4 separate regions of the Homo sapiens genome follow, and regions 2, 3 and 4 are each linked to region 1. Evidence: promoter capture Hi-C in human tissues and cell types (Jung and others, 2019). All regions are on one chromosome and are shown on one strand. Each heading gives the region's core, a stretch centred on a gene start or on the middle of the fragment in contact. The rest is flanking DNA. Distances are from core to core; before and after follow the strand shown.

The links. The method cuts DNA at HindIII sites, captures the fragments that hold promoters and counts their contacts. A contact is called where the count stands out against the background at its distance.
Region 2: a contact is called between a fragment that was not itself captured here and the fragment with the promoter of NLRC4 in region 1, in 2 of the 25 tissues and cell types used here (liver and pancreas).
Region 3: a fragment that was not itself captured here is called in contact with the fragment with the promoter of NLRC4 in region 1 in 1 of the 25 tissues and cell types used here (liver).
Region 4: a fragment that was not itself captured here is called in contact with the fragment with the promoter of NLRC4 in region 1 in 1 of the 25 tissues and cell types used here (H1 embryonic stem cells).

The regions. Positions count from the first base shown.
Region 1 is chr2:32,263,442-32,266,319 of GRCh38, forward strand. NLRC4 (NLR family CARD domain containing 4) reads right to left here and starts at 1,445. Exons shown (of 9, transcript NM_001199138.2): 1 at 1,297-1,445. The HindIII fragment of the contact is 13,663 bases long and covers 1-2,878 here.
Region 2 is chr2:32,509,099-32,511,976 of GRCh38, forward strand. BIRC6 (baculoviral IAP repeat containing 6) reads left to right here. Exons shown (of 74, transcript NM_016252.4): 52 at 640-896; 53 at 1,428-1,536. Among named protein-coding and RNA genes, the nearest start is that of MIR558, 22 kb to the right of the region's middle. The HindIII fragment of the contact is 3,511 bases long and covers 1-2,878 here.
Region 3 is chr2:32,045,531-32,048,408 of GRCh38, forward strand. No RefSeq gene overlaps it. Among named protein-coding and RNA genes, the nearest start is that of DPY30, 7.2 kb to the left of the region's middle. The HindIII fragment of the contact is 6,568 bases long and covers 1-2,878 here.
Region 4 is chr2:32,079,015-32,081,892 of GRCh38, forward strand. All of the region lies in intron 1 of SPAST (spastin), which reads left to right. Among named protein-coding and RNA genes, the nearest start is that of SPAST, 17 kb to the left of the region's middle. The HindIII fragment of the contact is 7,479 bases long and covers 1-2,878 here.

The DNA.
Region 1 (2,878 bases), core at 195-2,694:
TCTTAGGTCTTTAATAGGCTTCAGCAATCTCACATGTTAATATTAGTGTTATGTGCTGAACTGGGCTTCCCCCAAATCCATATGTTGAAGCCCTGAACCTCAGAATGTGACTGTATTTGCAGACAGAGCCTTTAAAGAGGTCATTAAGCTCAAATGAGGCTGTTATGAGAAGAGGAAATCGGGACACACAAAGGGAGATACCAGGAATGTGCATACAGAGAGAAAAGGCCAAGGAGGGAGGCGTGGGGAGAAGCCAACCCTGCTGACACCTTGGTCTTGGACTTGCAGCCTCCAGAACTGTGGGAATATAAATTTCTGTTGTTTAAGCCACCCAGTCTATGGTATTTTAAACACATTAATACGACTAATATTATAAAAGTGTGTGAACAGTTAAGAAGTGTGCTGACCAGGTTCTATCCTAGTTTTGTAGACAATTAGCAGTGTGATGTAGGGCAGGACATTTAACTCCTCTCTACCACATTTTCCACCTCTCAAAGCCAGGCTGCAAGGATCTACTGAGATAATGTACATAAAGACCCTATCACGAAATAGGTGTCCCGTAAAGGGTGATTTCCTTCACTTCTGTCTCCAAATATCAGGTTTCTCATCAGTAACTTGGGAGATTGGATGGACTAAGTAGTCCACCTCGTTCCTTTCAGCTTTGATCATCTGTGATTCTAACAACAGTCTTAGCAACAAGAGTGAGTTTCCTGGCCGGGCACGTTGGCTCACACCTGTAATCCCAGCACTTTGGGAGGCTGAGGTGGGCAGATCACGAGGTCAGGAGTTGAGACCAGTCTGGCCAACATGGTGAAACCCTGTCTCTACTAAAAATACAAAAATTAGCTGGGGCGCGGTGCCGGGTGCCTGTAATCCCAGCTACTTGGGAGGCTGAGGCAGGAGAATTGCTTGAACCCAGGAGGCAGAGGTTGCAGTGAGCCGAGATCACGCCACTGCAGTCCAGCCTGGGTGACAGAGCAAGACTCTGTCTCAAAAAAAAAAAAAAAAAAAGAGTGAGTTTCCTTTCTGTAATGCCAAAAAGTGTTTCCAAAGTCCTTTCCATCTCACAGTAGTCCAAGGGGTACATGTACCCCTTGAACCTGATGAAGCCCCAGCAGACCCGATTAACCACCCCTAAAGGTTTCTCGGCAGGCAAATCCAGCCAGGCATGCAAATCACACTCGTCAATGTTAAGGCTTTTGTACATCCCAGACACAAGCTTTAAATGAATGTAAACCCAGATTTTAATATTTGGGCCCCAGACCTTAAAAATCCCATTCTCTCTACCCACAGTACCTGGCTGAGCAATCCAATTGCCCTCTTCTTGGGAGACCAAGACATGTTTTTAAAATAAAGTTTCTTTGTATTTGCTTTCCGTTTCAGTGAGGCCTCGAGTTCTTGTAGACCAGATACCTTCTTGTTCTGTGAGAGGACAGTGTACAGAGAGGGGAACTGCTGAGCAGTTCCTTTTTTTTTTTTCAAAGCACAGTAAGAGTGGTTTGGACACAAGTACTACCAGTTCAGAAAGGGAAGATGGGTGTAGGCAGGAGTAGCCGGGGAAGAAGTAGAACTTCAGAGTAAAAGATGCAAGAGCTAGAAATTCCGTCAAGAAAGGAATTACTCATTTGTTTCCTGTTTGTTCACAACATATGAATTCATTGCTGTTGAGTTACTTATTCTATACCTTAAAATGAAACAAAGTCTTCTGAACATCCAACATATATTTTTTTTCTTTTTCTTTCTTTTTTCTTTTTTTTGAGACAGAGTCTTGTTCTGTCACCCAAGCTGGAGGGCAGTGGCACAATCTCAGCTCACTGCAACCTCTGCCTCCCGGGTTCAAGCGTTCCTCCCGCCTCAGTCCTCCCAGTAGCTAAGACTACAGGCGTGCACCACCATGCCCGGCTAATTTTTGTATTTTTAGTAGAGACAGAATTTCACCATGTTGGCCAGGCTGGTCTCGAACTCCTGACCTCAGGCAATCTGCCAGCCTCAGCCTCCCAAAGTGCTGGGATTACAGGCGTGAGCCACCATGCCCAGCCACAACATGTATTTTTAATGCTTAACCATGGGAGATAGAGCGGTAAATGAAATGAGCCAGCTTAGTTGGCTAAAGCACATTGCTACTGCATTCAAGGTCATGCTTACCCCTGTACCTTGAATCCCAGAGGACTTCCAGCAGATGTGTTCTCTCAGTCAGCAGGGTTCTGGGCAAGGTCACACAGGGCAAACAGATCACCAGTTTTGGTCCACTCCACCGATGACGCACGGGGACACCCTCCGGAGTATAAACAGCCAGGGGCTTGCACAGGCACACTCACATTGGACGTTTGTGTTCACAGACTCCAGGAGGCCAGCTTATACTCAGCTGAGGACTGAAGAAATCTCTCTGCACTTCCCTTGAGGATGACATTCTTGCATACTCTTTCCTCTGTCTTTGCATAAACTACCAGGAACATGTCTTTGTGTTACATAACTTCTTATTTCAAAAAGAGCATTCTGACAGTAGCCTATCTGCCATAGAGGGATACCAAAGTTTCCCGGCAAATAAATGTCTACATCCTGGGTTTTCTAAGGGGGCATCAGTGTCAGTGTTTCCCAACTTGTGAGGTGGGTTTCTCTGAAGTGAGATTGAGGGCTACACTATCAGCTAGATTTTTAAATTGTAATGAAACCTATATATAAACATATGTTCAAGAGAAAAAACTGCAAAGACAGCCACCAAAATAGTAATGATGCTTATTGCTGGGGAATACAATTATAAGCAATTTTAAATTTCTGTCTTTGGCTTATCTGTATATTCTAATTTTATTTATCAACTTATTTATTTTTTATTTTATTTGTTTATTTATTTATTTATTTATTTATTTGAGACAGAGTC
Region 2 (2,878 bases), core at 166-2,665, 250 kb after region 1:
CAAGGTGCTAAGACTACACAGTTTTAGAAGTCTATGATAGTAATCAGTTTATCAGTATATATAATTGCATGTAAAAGAAAGTTTCTGGATGATTGCCTAAAAAAGCAAACCCATGGTGTCTAAGTGCTATGAATACAAGTACTTTTGTATGTGATTTATCTTTCTGTTTGTTTTGAGACAGAGTCTCACCCTGTCGCCCAGGATGGAGTGCAGTGGTGCAGTCTAGACTCACTGCAACTTCTGCCTCCCGAGTTCAAATGATTCTCCTGCCCCACCTTCCCAAGTAGCTGGGATTACAGGCGCCCACCACCATGCCCAACTAATCTTTGTATTTTTAGTAGATAAGGGGTTTCACCAAGTTGGCCAGGATGGTCTCGAACTCCTGACCTTGTCATCCACCTGCCTCGGCCTCCCAAAGTGCTGAGATTACAGGTGTTAGCCACCGTGCCTGGCCATGATTTATCTTATAGGGGAAACTTACTGTCTGTTTACTTAATTTGCAGCATTCTAAAAAAACATGTCTTAGATTGGTTAATGCTGTTTATGAAACACAACATGCTGATCTTTAAAAAGTTATGTTCTACCCCGAAGTGATTTGAGCGACTTATATTGATCATACAAGTCATTTTGTATTTTCAGTATTGGATGGTTACGGTTATTACATCATTGCCTTACTCACATAAGTGATCTAGAAGGAATGATGGCAAGTGCAGCTGCACCTACTGCTAATCTGCTGCAGACTTGTGCGGCCTTATTGATGTCACCTTACTGTGGAATGCATTCACCCAACATCGAGGTTGTGCTTGTAAAGATAGGACTGCAGTCTACTAGAATTGGCCTGAAGCTCATAGACATTCTCCTGAGAAATTGTGCAGCATCAGGCAGTGATCCTACAGGTGATAATTAACTTTGATATTTAAATGTTTACATATCTGTAAAGTAACAGCAGTTGAACTGTGCGATCTTCGTGCTTAACTCTGTTTTGGGAATTATTTTTTCTTTTAGTTTATGTTTATCTCTCCTCTCTTCTCTGATGGAGTCTCACTCTGTTGCCCAGGCTGGAGTGCAGTGGCGCAATCTTGGCTCACTACAACCTCCACCTCCCTAGTAGCTGGGATTACAGGCATCTGCCACCACACCCGGCTAATTTTTGTATTTTTAGTAGAGATGGGGTTTCTCCATATTGATCAGGCTGGTTTTGAACTCCTGACCTCAGGTGATCCACCCACCTTGGCCTCCCAGAGTGCTGGGATTACACGTGTGAACCACTGCACCCAGCCTAGTTTCATTATTTTTAGAGTTTGTTCTGTGTTGTTGGAATTTATGGAAGCCTCATTTTTAATGAATAACTTAATTCAATTAAGTAAATCTTCCCATGGTTAACTTGCTTATTTAGCAAACTTTTTCTTTGGATTCTTTGTTGCAAGATTTGAATAGTCCTTTACTTTTTGGAAGACTAAATGGACTCTCTTCTGACTCTACGATAGATATTCTTTACCAGCTTGGAACAACTCAGGATCCTGGTACAAAAGACAGGTACGATTTTATTTTTCATTTAATTAAGCACACACATGCACATAATCATGCTATAGTAAATGTTTCTGACAGTTTTTCCTTAGATGATCTCATAAAAGACAATACTGTGATATATTGTATGTTTACCATATGCCTCACACGATGTAACTTCTGCAAGTATTCATGAACATTAGACATACATTTGTATGTGTTTGGACATACTTTAAGCAAATTTGAACTTAAATAGAATTCTTTGTTAATACTGCTTTTGAGGAATGGAATAAAACATATATTTTTAAGTTGGCTACGTGTGAAAGGAACCTTGTAAAGTGATGGTATCAGAGTCATACTGTCTTAGGTAGTACTTTATATGTGTATATGAATGTAGGGATATTGTGTCTGTAGTTGGTACTTCAACTGTTTTTATAATGGTTCTGTTTATTTATTATTGATTATCGTATTCATCGAAATCTTTTCATGACTTTCTGCACCCTTTCCTGCTGTTTACAGAATGAAACAATATCATAACATGTAAATGACATTTGAACACATTGGCTAAATATTTAGTGATTTTTTTCTTTTCTTTTCTTTTTTTTTTTTTTTTTTTTTTTTTTTACATTTAGGTAATTTTAATGAGTTGTCCTAATGTCATTCTACCTTGATGTCTTCTACTTCCAAATTGATACCAACTTGAATTTTTGTTTGTTTTGTTTTGAGATGGAGTCTTGCTCTGTTGCCCAGGCTGGAGCGCAGTGGTGCAATCTTGGCTCACTGCAAGCTCCACCTTCTGGGTTCATGCCATTCTTCTGCCTCAGCCTCCTGAGTAGCTGGGTCTACAGGCGACCACCACTATAACTGACTAATTTTTTTTTTTTTTTTTTTTTTTTTTTGTATTTTTAGTAGAGACGGGGCTTTACCGTGTTAGTCAGGATGGTCTCAATCTCCTGACCTCATGATCCGCCCACCTCAGGCCTCCCAAGTGCTGGGATTACAGGCATGAGCCACCGCACCCGGCCAACTTGAAGTAGTTTTGAAACATATTTTTGTTGATAAATTTTTGAGCAAATATTTGGCATTCTCTGTTTTTATGTGTAGCATCCATATTAGAAAAACAGAGAGATTTCTTCCTGATTTATGTTACTTTTTAATATTTTGATTAATTATGTTTAAAATGAAGTCATTTGATGTTTTATTAATATCTTTATAAATTATTAAAATTATGGATTACATTTAAACATAGATTGCAATTGTTTTTGATGAAGTGAATAACAATTTGTGCCAAATTTGAATCATAATCGTTAGTAGTGGTTAAAATATATTTAAAATATCAGTGTTAAATATTTTTCCAGAACAGGTTGCTTGA
Region 3 (2,878 bases), core at 136-2,635, 220 kb before region 1:
GCAACATGGGAAAAACCCATCTCTACTAAAAATATGAAAAATTGGGCGGACATAGTAGTGCACGATTGTAGTCCCAGCTACTCAGGGGCGGAAGCGAGAGGATCGCTTGGAAGAGTCTAGGCTGTCCTGATCACACCACTGTACTCTAGCCTGGGCAACACAGCAAGACCCTGTCTTGAAAAAAAAAAAAAAGATGAAACTGCTTTGTAAACTGAAGTTACACAAATGTAATTGAAATTCATTTTGTCTTATCTACATTACTTATCAAGCCACTTCATTAGCTTTTTAATTTTATTCATTTATTTATTTATTTTTGAGACAGGATCTCACTCTGTTGCCCAAGCTGGAATACAGTTTTGCAAACTTGGCTCACTGCAACCTTCACCTTCCAGGTTCAATCGATTCTCCTTCCTCAGCCTCTCAAGTAGCTGGGACTACAGGCGCATGCCACCACACCCAGCTGATTTTTGTATTTTTAGTAGAGAGGGGGTTTTCCCATGTTGGCCGGACTGATCTCAAACTCCTGGCCTCAAGCGATTTACCCACCTCGGCCTCCCAAAGTGCTGGGATTACAGCACTTTGTAAGCCACCATGCCCGGCCCTTCATTAGCTTTTTACTTTGTTGTTTTAAAATAATTTGCAGGAAAGAAATTATTCAGAAAAATTAAGAACTTGATCCAGCACCCACCCACACCCACCTACCCCACCCCACCCCCCAACACTCACATACAAAAATGTATTTGCAAATAAATACATAGAATTTACTGAGTGTAAATGGGCCCTCTGAGTACAATGTGTGGGGAGGGACACCCAACCACCTCTCAAGAAGACCTAGAAATATATGTTCCAGGTTAGGTAAGTCACTTTCCAGAGAAATAAGAGAAATATCTCTTTGTGGCTAATATTGGAAGGCAACCACTCTACCTGTAGCTCCCTTGTCTCTACTACCAAACAACATGCCCAAGCAATCTTACCACCCATCTCAGAAATTTTGGTATATATGGCCGGGCGCGGTGGCTCATGCCTGTAATCCCAGCACTCTGGGAGGCGGAGGTGGGCGGATCACGAGATCAGGAGATCAAGACCATCTTGGCTAACATGGTGAAACCCGTTTCTATTAAAAATACAAAAAAAAAGTAGCCACGCGTGGTGGCGGGCACCTGTAGTCCCAGCTACTCAGGAGGCTGAGGCAGGAGAATGGCGTGAACCTGGGAGGCAGAGCTTGCAGTGAGTGAGATGGTGCCACTGCACTCCAGCCTGGGTGACAGAGCAAGACTCCATCTCAAAAAAATTAAATAAATAAATTTTGGTATATCAAGGAACATACCAAATGGGTTTTTGAAAGGCATGAATATAGTGTGTTCCTTTGATTTTTATGATACACAAGTGATCTCAACGATAAGAATAATAAAACTGGACGCGGTGGCTCACACCTGTAATCCCATCTCTCTGGGAGGCCGAGGTGGGTGGATCACTTGAGGTCAGGAGTTCCAGACCAGCGTGGCCAACATGGTGAAACCCTGTCTCTACTAAAAATACAAAAAAAAAATTGGCTGGGTGTGGCTGCACACACCTGTAATACCAGTTGCTAAGGAGGCTGAGGCAGGAGAATGACTTGAACCCGGGAGGTGGAGGTTGCAGTGAGCCGAGATTGCGCCACTGCATTCCAGTCTGGGCAACAGAGCAAGACTACATCTCAAGGAAAAAAAAAAAAAGAGAGAGGATAATAAGAATTAATGAAAAGGCAACCTTACTGACATTTCAAATCCTTAAATTGCCAATTGTTTCTGCCACTTCTTGTATGAGGCTATATTTAGATTTTTTCCTAAAACGTCCTAATTTTCAGTCTTAATTTTTTAAATGTTTTTTCTATCTTTTTAGAGATGGGTTCTCCATACGATGTCCAGGCTGCAGTGCAATGACTATTCACAGGAGCAATCTTAGAACACTGCAACCTCCAACTCCTGGCCTCAAGATATTCTCCTGCCTCAGTTTCCCAAATAGCTGGGACTATAGGTGCATGCCACAGTGGCGGTGATTTTCAGTTTTTAAATGTGTTGATTTTATGCTTTCCTTTTCAATCCAAATTATTATCACTTAAATTAATGTTCATAAATAGGTCATGGGTTATTAAGTGATAGGCAAAATACATAACTTTGATATCTCTTAATTTTAGGTTGCCCAAAGCCATTCCATATTAATTTAAATTGAAACCATTTCCCTTTTAAAAGACAAAGTCAGAGGCCAGGAACAGTGGTTCATGCCTCTGTAACCCTAGCACTTTGGGAGGCCAAGGTGGGAGAATTGCTTAAGCCCAATAGTTAGAGACCAGCCTGAGCACTATAGTGAGATCCCATGTCTTTAAAAAAAAAAAAAAAAAAAAAGACAAAGTCAGACAGTAAAATGGAGATTAATAGTGATGCCACCTGACCGGGCATGGTGGCTCATGCCTGTAATCCCAGCACTTTGGGAGGCTGAGGTGGGCGGATCACTGGAGGTCAGCAGTTCGAGAGGAGCCTGGCCAACATGGTGAAACCCCGTCTCTACTTAAGCTACAAAAATTAGTTGGGCGTGGTGGCACACGCCTGTAATCCCAGCTACTCGGGAGGCTGAGGCAGGAGAATCGCTAGAACCCAGGAGGTAGAGGTTGCAGTGAGCCAAGATTGCACCACTGCACTCTAGCCTGGGCAACAGAGCAAAAACTCTATCTCAAAAAAATTTTTTTTAATGTTCTGCCATCCAATGTTAACACAAGACTGTTGTTTAAAATGTGCTCCCCTATAAGACTGAGTCCAGTGGCTCCTGCCTGTAATCCCAGCACTTTGAGAGGCCGAGGTGGGCAGGTCGCTTGAGGCCAGGAGCTCAAGACCAGCCTGGG
Region 4 (2,878 bases), core at 220-2,719, 180 kb before region 1:
TATTTTGGTAGAGATGGGGTTTCACCATGTTGCCCAGGCTGATCTTGAATTCCTGGGCTCAAGTGACCCGCCCACCTCAGCCTCCCGAAGTGTTGAGAGAACAGGTGTGAACCACCATGCTCCACCTCTTAGTCTTTACAATCTGCAAAACCTCATAAGTGGCTAATAGAGGAATATAGTAAAGCAAAGGGGGATATCACTGATTAGAACTGTGTTTTTAGGCTGGGTGCGGTGGCTCACGCCTGTAATCGCAACATTTTGGGAGGCTAAGTGGGAGTATCACTTGAGCCCGGGAGTTCAAGACCAGCCTGGGCAATATAGTGAGAGACCCTGTCTTTAGAAAAAAATTAACCAGGTGTGGTGGTGCACACCTGTGGTCCCAGCTATTCAAGAGGCTGAGGTGGGAGAATCGCTTAAGCCTAGGAGGCGGAGGTTGCAGTGAGATCATACCACTGCTCTCTAGCATGGGTGACAGAGCGAGACCCAGTCTAAAAAAAAAAGTATTTTTTCGTTTTTTTCCAACTCATGTACACCCGCCACCCCACCCCTGCTTTTTTTTTTTCTGACATTGGGTCTTGCTCTGTCACCCAGGCTAGAGTGCAGTAGCACAATCAACTCACTGCAGCCTCCTCTTCCTGGACTCAAGCAGTCCTACCACCTCAGCCTCCCAAGTAGCTGGGACCACAGGTGTGCACCATCATGCCTGGCTAATTTTTGTACTTTTTGTAGAGATAGGGTTTCACCATGTGGTTCACCATCTCTAACTCCTGGGCTCAGTCAGTCCACTTTTGCCTCGGCATGAGCCACTGTGTGCAGCCCACGTTTTTTATTAATGGATATTTGGATTGTTTCCATCTATTGTGAATAATGTGGCTATGAACATTGGTCTAAATATCTGTTTAAGTCCCGGCTTTCAATACTTTTGGATATATACCTAGGAGTAGAATTACTGAATTATATGGTAACTTTCTGTTTAAATTTTTGAACTGCCAACCTGTTTTCCATAGGGGCTGCACCATTTTGCATTCCCACCAGCAGTGTACAAGGGTTCCAGTTTCTCCACATTTGTTATTTTTCATTTTTTAAAATAATAGTCATCCTAAAGGGTATGAAGTGGTATCTCGTTGTGATTTTGATTTGCATGTATTTTTCTAATGACTTATGATGCTCAGCATTTTGTCATGTACTTATGTACCATTTGTGTATCTTCTTTGGAAAAATGTCTATTAATGTTCTTTTCCCATTTTTTAATTGGGTTGTTTTTATGTTTATCAATTTTGTAAACATTTTAAGCTCTGCAGCATAACTACTCAACCCTGTCACATGGTAAGATTGACCCAGTAAAACTTTATGTACAAAAATAGGCAGCTTACTAGATTTAATCTTAGTCCATAGTTTGCTAAGGCATGCATTAGATAATGTAGTTACACTATTGGCTAATAATTTAAACTACAAGTGGTTGTAAGTTTCTGCCACCCAAATTCTTTCTTGATTTGATGTAGTCTGGTTGGTTGAATTTGAGTGTTATATGGGGTCATAGAGTTAAAAGAGAAATGTCTATGAGAAACTAGGGACTGTTGGGAGCTAATGTTAAAGGATTTTGGAGGCCTTTTGTGCACTGGAGACCATTGGAAGATTGGATTTTCTGCTATAAATGTATCTAAAGGATAATCAGTGTAAGTTATGGGCTGTAGTTTGCCAACCCCTACATTAAGGGATTGAAATAATTTGAATATGGGTTTCAGTTCTTGTATGGTCTGGCTCAGTTCTTTTTTTTTTTTTTTTTTTTTTTTTTTTTGAGATGGAGTCTCACTCTGTTGCCCAAGCTGCAGTGCCATGGCACGATCTCAGCTCGCTGCAACCTCCGCCTCCTGGCTTCAAGTGATTCTCCTGCCTCAGCCTCCAGAGTAGCTAGGACTACAGGCACGTGCCACCACATCTGGCTAATTTTTTTTTTTTTCAAGACAGAGTTTCGCTCTTGTCACCCAGCCTGGAGTGCAATGGCACGATCTTGGCTCACCGCAGCCTCCGCCTCCTGGGTTCAAGTGATTCTCCTGCCTCAGCCTCCCAAATAGCTGAGGCAACAGGCGTGCGCCACCACGCCTAGCTAATTTTTCTGTTTTTAGTAGAGATGGGGTTTCACCATCTTGGCCAGGCTGGTCTCGAACTCCTGATCTCATGATCCACCCGCCTCAGCCTCCCAAAGTGCTGGGATTACAGGCGTGAGCCACCTCACCTGGCGTTTTTTTGTGTGTGTTTTCAGTAGAGATGGGGCTTCACTGTATTAGCCAGAATGGTCTTGATCTCCTGACCTCGTGATTCACCTGCCTCAGCCTCCCAAAGTGCTGGAATTATAGGCATGAGCCACCACGCCTGGCTGTGGCTCAGTTCTTAACTGTTCATTCATTCAGGGTCCCAGCCAAAATCTTTTGCCACAGCTTCTCCTGGGCATGCTCTGAAATTCATTTTTTGTCTGTTTAGTTGCATGAGTCCACTGAAAGCTTTGCTTATTTTCTCCACCACTTTCAGAGTTCACAGTCACTTCAAGTAGACGAGGTCAGGAGATCGAGACCATCCTGGCCAACATGGTGAAACCCCGTCTCTACTAAAAATACAAAACTTAGCTGGGCGTGGTAGCGTGTGCCTGTAGTCCCAGCTACTCAGGAGGCTGAGGCAGGAAAATTGCTTGAACCCGAGAGGCAGAGGTTGCAGTAAGCCGAGATCATACCATTTCACTCCAGCCTGGGCGACAGAGTGAGACACTGTCAAAAAAAAAAAAAAAAAAAAAAAGGAAAGAAAAGTGCTCCAAATGCTGGGCTCATCTCTGCTGGCTTCTCTCCTTTTTATATTTCGATAATTTTTAAAATAATAACCATCC